Regions from separate parts of the Homo sapiens genome. Here region 2 is linked to region 1. Evidence: promoter capture Hi-C in 16 types of primary human blood cells and fetal thymus (Javierre and others, 2016). All regions are on one chromosome and are shown on one strand. Each heading gives the region's core, a stretch centred on a gene start or on the middle of the fragment in contact. The rest is flanking DNA. Distances are from core to core; before and after follow the strand shown.

Region 1 (3,267 bases), core at 1-2,500:
GAGGCTGGTGCAGCTTCTTTCCCCAGACAGAGCTGATCCCAGACAAGGCCGTCCCCTTGAAACCTGAGGGGCCAGAGTTCAAAGTACGGCTAAGTTGATACTTAGGGAAGGGCGTCACTGGTAAATCTGGGGGAGCCTTGGAGGAAGTTTGTCCAGGAAATGAATTAAGGAGACTCATCCAAAGATCCTCTCATTTTGCAGGTGGGTAGACAGAGACCCAGTGAGGGGCAGTAATTTACCCCCAAATCACACAGGGAGTCACATTGGCACAGCTAAGACTAGAGCAGAGGGCTCTGGCTCCTGACCCACGGCTTTTTTTTTTTTTTTTTTTTTTTTTTGAGGCGGAGTTTCGTTCTTGTTGCCCAGGCTGAAGTGCAATGGCGCGATCTCGGCTCACTGCAACCTCCGCCTCCCAGGTTCAAGCGATTCTCCTGCCTCAGCCTCCCAAGTAGCTGGGATTACAGGCATGCGCCACCATCCCCGGCTCCTTTTTTTTTTGTATTTTTAGTAGAGACGGGGTTTCTCCATGTTGGCCAGGCTGGTCTCGAACTCCCGACCTCAGCCTCCCAAAGTGTTAGGATTACAGGCGTGAGCCACTATACCCGGCCGGCTTTTTTTCTTTTTTTTTTTTTTTGAGACAGAGTCTCACTCTGTCACCCAGGTGTACAGTGGTGCGATCTCGGCTCACTGCAACTTCCGCCTCCCGGATTCAAGCGATTCTCCTTCCTTAGCCTCCAGAGTAGCTGGGACTACAGGCGCGCGCCACCACACCTGGCTAATTTTTGTATTTTTAGTGGAGACGGGGTTTCAACTATGTTAGCCAGGCTGGTCTCGAACTCCCGAACTCGTGATCCTCCCCCGCCCCACCCCGCCCCCCGGCCTCCCAAAGTGCTGGGATTACGGTAAAGGCGTGAGCCACCGCGCCCGGCAGGGCTTTTTCGATTTCTAAAACCGCGGGTTTGGGGCTCTGCGCTGCAGGCACGAACTGCTCACCTTTTCTCCCCACCTCCAGGGCTCGGGAAAGGCGAAGTCCAGGAGCCCGGACCTGACGCAGAATGTCTATAGCTGCCGTCGGCAGCGTGAGCTGGGGCGGCGGTCCTAGGGGCCTTGGCCGCGGCCGACCCCTTGGGTCCCCTTCTCAGCTGTAGGGCGTCCACGGCTCCGGGCCGGTTCCTGGGCCCAGGACCCACCTGACTCACAAGGAAGCAGATTGAAAACGCAGCCGCAAGGCCCGCGAGCTCGGGCGGAGGTGCGCAAGCGCCGGGCGGTGGGGCGGGGATCGCGCGGGCCGCCCCTCCCTACCATCCCGACCCGCCTCTGTCCCCGCCCCGTCCCCGCCCTTATCCCCCTCACCTTCGCCCTCTCCCGCCCCATCTCCCGTCGCCCTCGCCGTCCCCTCTCCCTCCTTCGTCTCACTGTGCACCTCTCTGCGCCCCTGTCACCCGCCTTCACTGCGCGCCTCCGTTACCCTGCACCATCTACGCCCCTTATTCCCTCCCCGCACCCTCTGAGGTTCCCCAGCCCGCACCCTTCCGCTCCGCAGCCCCCGTTACCAGCACCTTCTCCGCCCTGTCTGCGCACCCCCTGCCCGCCACACCGCCGCTCCTCACCGCTGTCTCCGCTCCCCATCCCCAACCCCGGCTCCTGGCCTCCTTTGGATCGGGAAACCCCCGAGAAGTACCCAGGTTGAGTGGGAGGAGGGGAGTTGGGACCCAGCCTGGCTTGCTTAGTGTTGTGTGAACCTGGGCAAGGCCCAGCCCCTCTCTGGTCTCAGGGTCCCCAGTTGGTATTGGAGGGAATTGCTTTCAGTTGGAAACTTGTTAAATCCAAGATAACTTGGTGAGGGTAGAGTCCGCTGCAGTAACCTGCTTTTTTATTCTTTCTCTTTTTTTTTTTTTGAGACGGAGTCTCCCTCTGTCGCTCAGGCTGGAGTGCAGTGGCGCGATAGCCCACTGCAACCCCCGCCTCCCAGTTTCTTGCGATTCTCCTGCCTCAGACTCCCCAGTAGCTGGGATTACAGGTGTGTGCCACCACACCCAACTAATTTTTGTATTTTTAGTAGAGACAGGGTTTCGCCGTGTTGGCCTGGCTAGTCTTGAACTCCTGACCTCAGGTGATCCGCCCACCTCAGCCTCCCAAAGTGCTGGGATTACAGGCATGAGCCACCGCACCTGGCCTCTTTTTGTTTTTAAGAACCCTGTGGTACCATCCTGGCTAACACGGTGAAACCCTGTCTCTGCTAAAAATACAAAAAATTAGCCGGGCATGGTGGCAGGTGCCTGTAGTCCCAGCTACTCGGGAGGCTGAGGCAGGAGAATGGCATGAACCCGGGAGGCGGAGCTTACAGTGAGCCAAGATTCTGCCACTGCACAATATTTGCCTGGGCAAAGAGCGAGACTGTGTCCCCAAAAAAAAAAAAAAAAAAAAAGATCCCTGTGGTAAGAGCCTGGAATCCTAACCACTAGACCACCAGGGAGCTTTTTTATTCTTTTGAAGAATAAAAAAAGAGTTTTATCTTTGTTTGCAAAAGTAATGTATGTTGGCTGGGCGCGGTGGCTCACGCCTGTAATGCCAGCACTTTGGGAGGCTGAGGTGGGTGGATCACCTGAGGTCAGGAGTTCAAGACTAGCCTGGCCAACACGGTGAAACCCCGTCTCTACTAAAAATACAAAATTAGGCGAGGTGGTTCATGCCTGTATTCCCAGCTACTTGGGAGGCTGAGGAAGGAGAATCGCTTGAACCGGGGAGGTGGAGGTTGCAGTGAGCCAAGATCAGGCTACTGTATTCCAGCCTGGGTAACAAGAGCAAAACTCCATCTCAAAAAAATAAAAAAATAAAAAAATAATAAATAAATAAGGTATGCATGTAATGCATGTTAGTCTCAAAAAACTAAAAAATACAAACATATGAGAGTTGGCCATGCAGAGGGGAAGGATCTGAGTGATGGTTAAGGGACCCCCTGATGCAAAGGCCTCCAGGCAAGAAAGTTTTTTTTCCGAACCAAAGAGACACTGAGGAACTATAGGAATGTTGCTAGCCAGGGGGTTTGGGCCAAAGAGGCTGGGGAGGTACCGGAGGGGAAGCTTTGAGATACTTCTGTGCCTGTGCTCTGTTCCTCTTTAGTCTCATCACCTTGCACTATGACCTTAGGCAAGACAGGTCATAAGACAGCCCCCACCACCCAGGCCCCTTTGAGAGGGTCTTGCCGCATACCCTGGAGGAAGGAACACTGCACAGAGAGGCCAAGAAGAATCTACACAGATGGGT
Region 2 (3,410 bases), core at 818-3,317, 200 kb after region 1:
CCATCCATGTCCCTGGGATGCAGCCACACAGCTGTCCTCTGTGTCAGCAGCATGCTAAGGCTCTTCCTGGCCCGGGGCTTTGGCCTATGCTGCTTCCTCCCCTAGTGAGCCCCGCCCTGCCCCTTGAGCAGATTTCGGTCTCCAGCCATTCCACAGGGCGGCCTTCCCAACACTCCCCTGGACTCTCTCACAGCACCCGAGGGTTTTCCTTCACACTGCAGATCTTGGTTTCTGTTTATCCTGTGTTTATGGCAGTGATGACTTGGTCAATATCCCTCCTTCCTCTCTAGTTCGTAGGCTCCACAAGGACAAGGATCATGTCTTTCTTATTCCTTCCTTTATGCACAGAGCCTAGAACAGTGTCTGGATGCAGAACTATTCCATGAGGATTTGTTGAATACTTGCCTGTGGCATCTCAACTCAGGAAAGCGGTCAGGGCTGGCAGAGTGGACTGCGAGTCATCAGTGGCCAGATGGTGCAGATAGCGATTGTGGCCTGGGGAGTGGGTGGGTTCCCAAGGGAGTGGACAGGACTGTGATGAGAGGGGCCCTGCAGCAGGTCCTGATGGACAGGCAGACAGGCCCATGAGAGGGTGGAGAAGGGGTGAAATTCAGGGAGGGAGATGTTAAGGCCACGCTGTGCTGGAGTGACCATGGCTATCGTTTATTGAGTGCTCATGGGTGCCCTCATGGTGCTGAGCTCTGGATACTCATTAGCTCATTTATTCCTCTAACAACATTGTGAGGAGATTCTAGAAATCCTATGTTATGGCTAAGGAAACTGAGGCACAGAAAGGTTAAGCCAAAGGTCACCCAGCAAGTAAGTGTGAAGTTAGTATCTGGAGCTCCCCCTAATGTAAGTACCGCCTCCATCCTCCTGAATTTTGCCAAACCTGCTGTGTTGGAGACAGTGGAGGTAGAGGGGAGAGGAGTATGGCCTGGAGGGTCTCTGAGCTGGTGGCGGAGGAAGGACTGGGGGTGTCAGCCTCTGGGTGGTCAAGAGGCCAGACCTGGAGGAGCTGGGCTGACGCTGAGCCAGGAGAGCTAAGTGTTAGCTGAGCCATCAAGGTTCCTGGAAGCTAGCATTGAGTCAGGGACCTGAGGCTAGGGATCCAGAGCATGCCAAGCTTGAAGGAACAGCCCATCTTGAAAGCCTGGGGGTCCAAGGCAGGGCAGGAATTCTAACAGCCTCTCCCTTTCTCAAAGGACTTTACAGTTCACAGAGTGCCTTCCTGCCCTTTCTCACTTGGTCCCCTTAGGTCTCTGGCACAGGAAGCAGCAGGCATCCTCACCCACTTTCATGGCAGAGAAAACCAAGCTTGGAGTGGGGTAGCTTGGGATCACACAGCTAGCAAATGATGGAGTGAAGATTCCAGTCCAGGTCTTCTGGCTGCATGTCCAGTGCTCTGTCAGTAAAATCCTGGCTGTTAAGGGCCACCCTGAGACAGAGGCAAACCCCAGTTTACACCCCCCCAGTGCAGGAAGTGGTTTTCGAGGGCAGATGCAGAGCCCGGCATCCGTGGTGGCTGTGATGAATCATCGGAGTGAGAGCTGCAGGTTGTCCCTGGGTCAGCAAACCTGGCTGCTCAGTGAGTAGCTGTGTGATGTTGGACAAGTCACTTTCAGCAGCCCACCACTACCCTCAACCCAACATCCGGTGGGCATCTGGGGCCCAGGAGCCAAAGCTGGTATGAGTGTGAACTCTGGGTGTCATAGCTGCCATCCCTCCTTAGCCTATTCTGAGCTCTGGATTGGATTTGGGAGAGGATTTGATTAGGTCCTAAACAGTGACTCCATTTAGAGGGCCTGGTTCATTTCCTGTGTGCTTACAGCAGATGAGACATGGGCAGAATTAACCTGGTCCAGCCAAGCCAAAGAAGTGATGGATGGGAAAGACACAGACCCCCACCTTGGGAGGGTGGGGCAGTGGCTTCCAGCACTCTAGACCCAAGGCCCTGGGTGAGCAAGCTGGTCTTCCTGGGGCGCCCTGGCTGGATTCTTGTTACTTCAGCTGTTGCAACAGCTGTCTCACTGGGTCCCCAGCTGCCTGTACTTCCTCTATCAGAGCAGTCCCCATGCTCCTTCAAACTAGTTGTCTAACCTCTGTTTTTTCTACTTAACTGAGGGCAGAGATTGTGTCTGACTTGTTCCCTGCCGTCCTCCTAGTACCTACCTCAGTGCTTGGAGAATGCATGAATGTATGCGTGCCCCAGTCCTCCCTGCCATCCACACATCCTGCCCACATTCCCCAGAGCAGCTTTGACACAGCACAGCTCTGCCTGTGGCATTTCGTTGCTCACAGGGCAAATCCCATGCCCACCATGTGTTCTGCAACCTCCCCCTCATCTTTGCCTCCCCTCCTGCCCTAATTTTCTCCTACACTTGCCACCCTCCCACCCCTGGGTTTCTCGGGTTTCCTATAATTGCTCCGGAGCTCCCGTCAAACCACTTCCCACCCCAGCTCTCCCAAGAACAGGGGCCTTACCAAACCTGCACGCAGTCCCTGTTCATACAGACCTGCCTGGGAGCACAGAAAGAACCATGAGCTCTGGGCCCTGTTCGCCAGCATCTGCTGATGTGGGATGCACCCAGGTGCGGGGCCTCAGGCAGCACTCCAGGCTGTTCCTCCTCCTTCTACAGCCCTCTGAGGTCCCCAAACACTTGTGTGTAAGGCTCCAAGGAAACAGGGAGAGACCCTGGGCAGGAGATATGAGTTCTAATCCTGCATCAGCCTCTCATTCTTAGGTAATTCCTTTACCCTCTGGGACCCCAGGTTTCTTATCTCTAAAATAAGACCACTGATAGCTCCCATTGTATCAAAAGCTTTTCCAGGGCCAGGCACTGTGAGGAGACTCAAATAGTCCTGTGAGTCCAGTATGATATCACTGGGCTCAATTCCAGATGAGGAAACGGAGGCTCTGAGGTGTTGAGAGGCTTGGCCAGAGTTGCACAGCTAAAAAGTGGCCCCATTGGGATCAAAATCAGCCTGGCTCGGGTATCTGAGCACATAACCACTGGGCCCTCTGAGAACCCTTCCATCTTGGTTAGTTTCTCGGCTGATCTCTCTGGGTAGGTGCCCTCTGGGGGCAGTACCCCTGCCTGAGTGGCACTTCCCCTCCTGGCTTTGTTTGGTTTGGCCTCGATTTAGAACAGGGTTGGCAGAGGCAGGCTGACTTGCATTTCTGGTTTTGGGTTTGTTGCTGCACTTTCCCCAAGGGGTGGGCGGGCTCTGACTGACAGTCACCACTGGGACAGGCCTGGGCCCCACCCTCACCACCCAGGAAAGGGGAAATGCGGCCCGCTCCCCACTCAGTGCCACTCTGTGCCACTCCGTGCCAGGCCCTGAGGGCACCCGGTTGCTGCTTCCTTCCGTCTTTCCCCAAGGACTATCAGAGGCAGGTGGCTGGGCCA

What was found. Contacts are between HindIII fragments. The CHiCAGO score rates a contact against its expected background, and 5 or more counts as called.
Region 2: a fragment that was not itself captured here is called in contact with the fragment with the promoter of HDHD3 in region 1 in 1 of 17 cell types (erythroblasts); the score reaches 5.7 in erythroblasts.

The regions. Positions count from the first base shown.
Region 1 is chr9:113,375,736-113,379,002 of GRCh38, forward strand. HDHD3 (haloacid dehalogenase like hydrolase domain containing 3) reads right to left here and starts at 1,251. Exons shown (of 3, transcript NM_001304509.2): 1 at 994-1,251. RefSeq lists a silencer at 1,103-1,622. The HindIII fragment of the contact is 9,890 bases long and covers 1-3,081 here.
Region 2 is chr9:113,577,612-113,581,021 of GRCh38, forward strand. All of the region lies in intron 17 of RGS3 (regulator of G protein signaling 3), which reads left to right. Among named protein-coding and RNA genes, the nearest start is that of RGS3, 120 kb to the left of the region's middle. RefSeq lists an enhancer at 1,510-1,599. The HindIII fragment of the contact is 1,505 bases long and covers 1,316-2,820 here.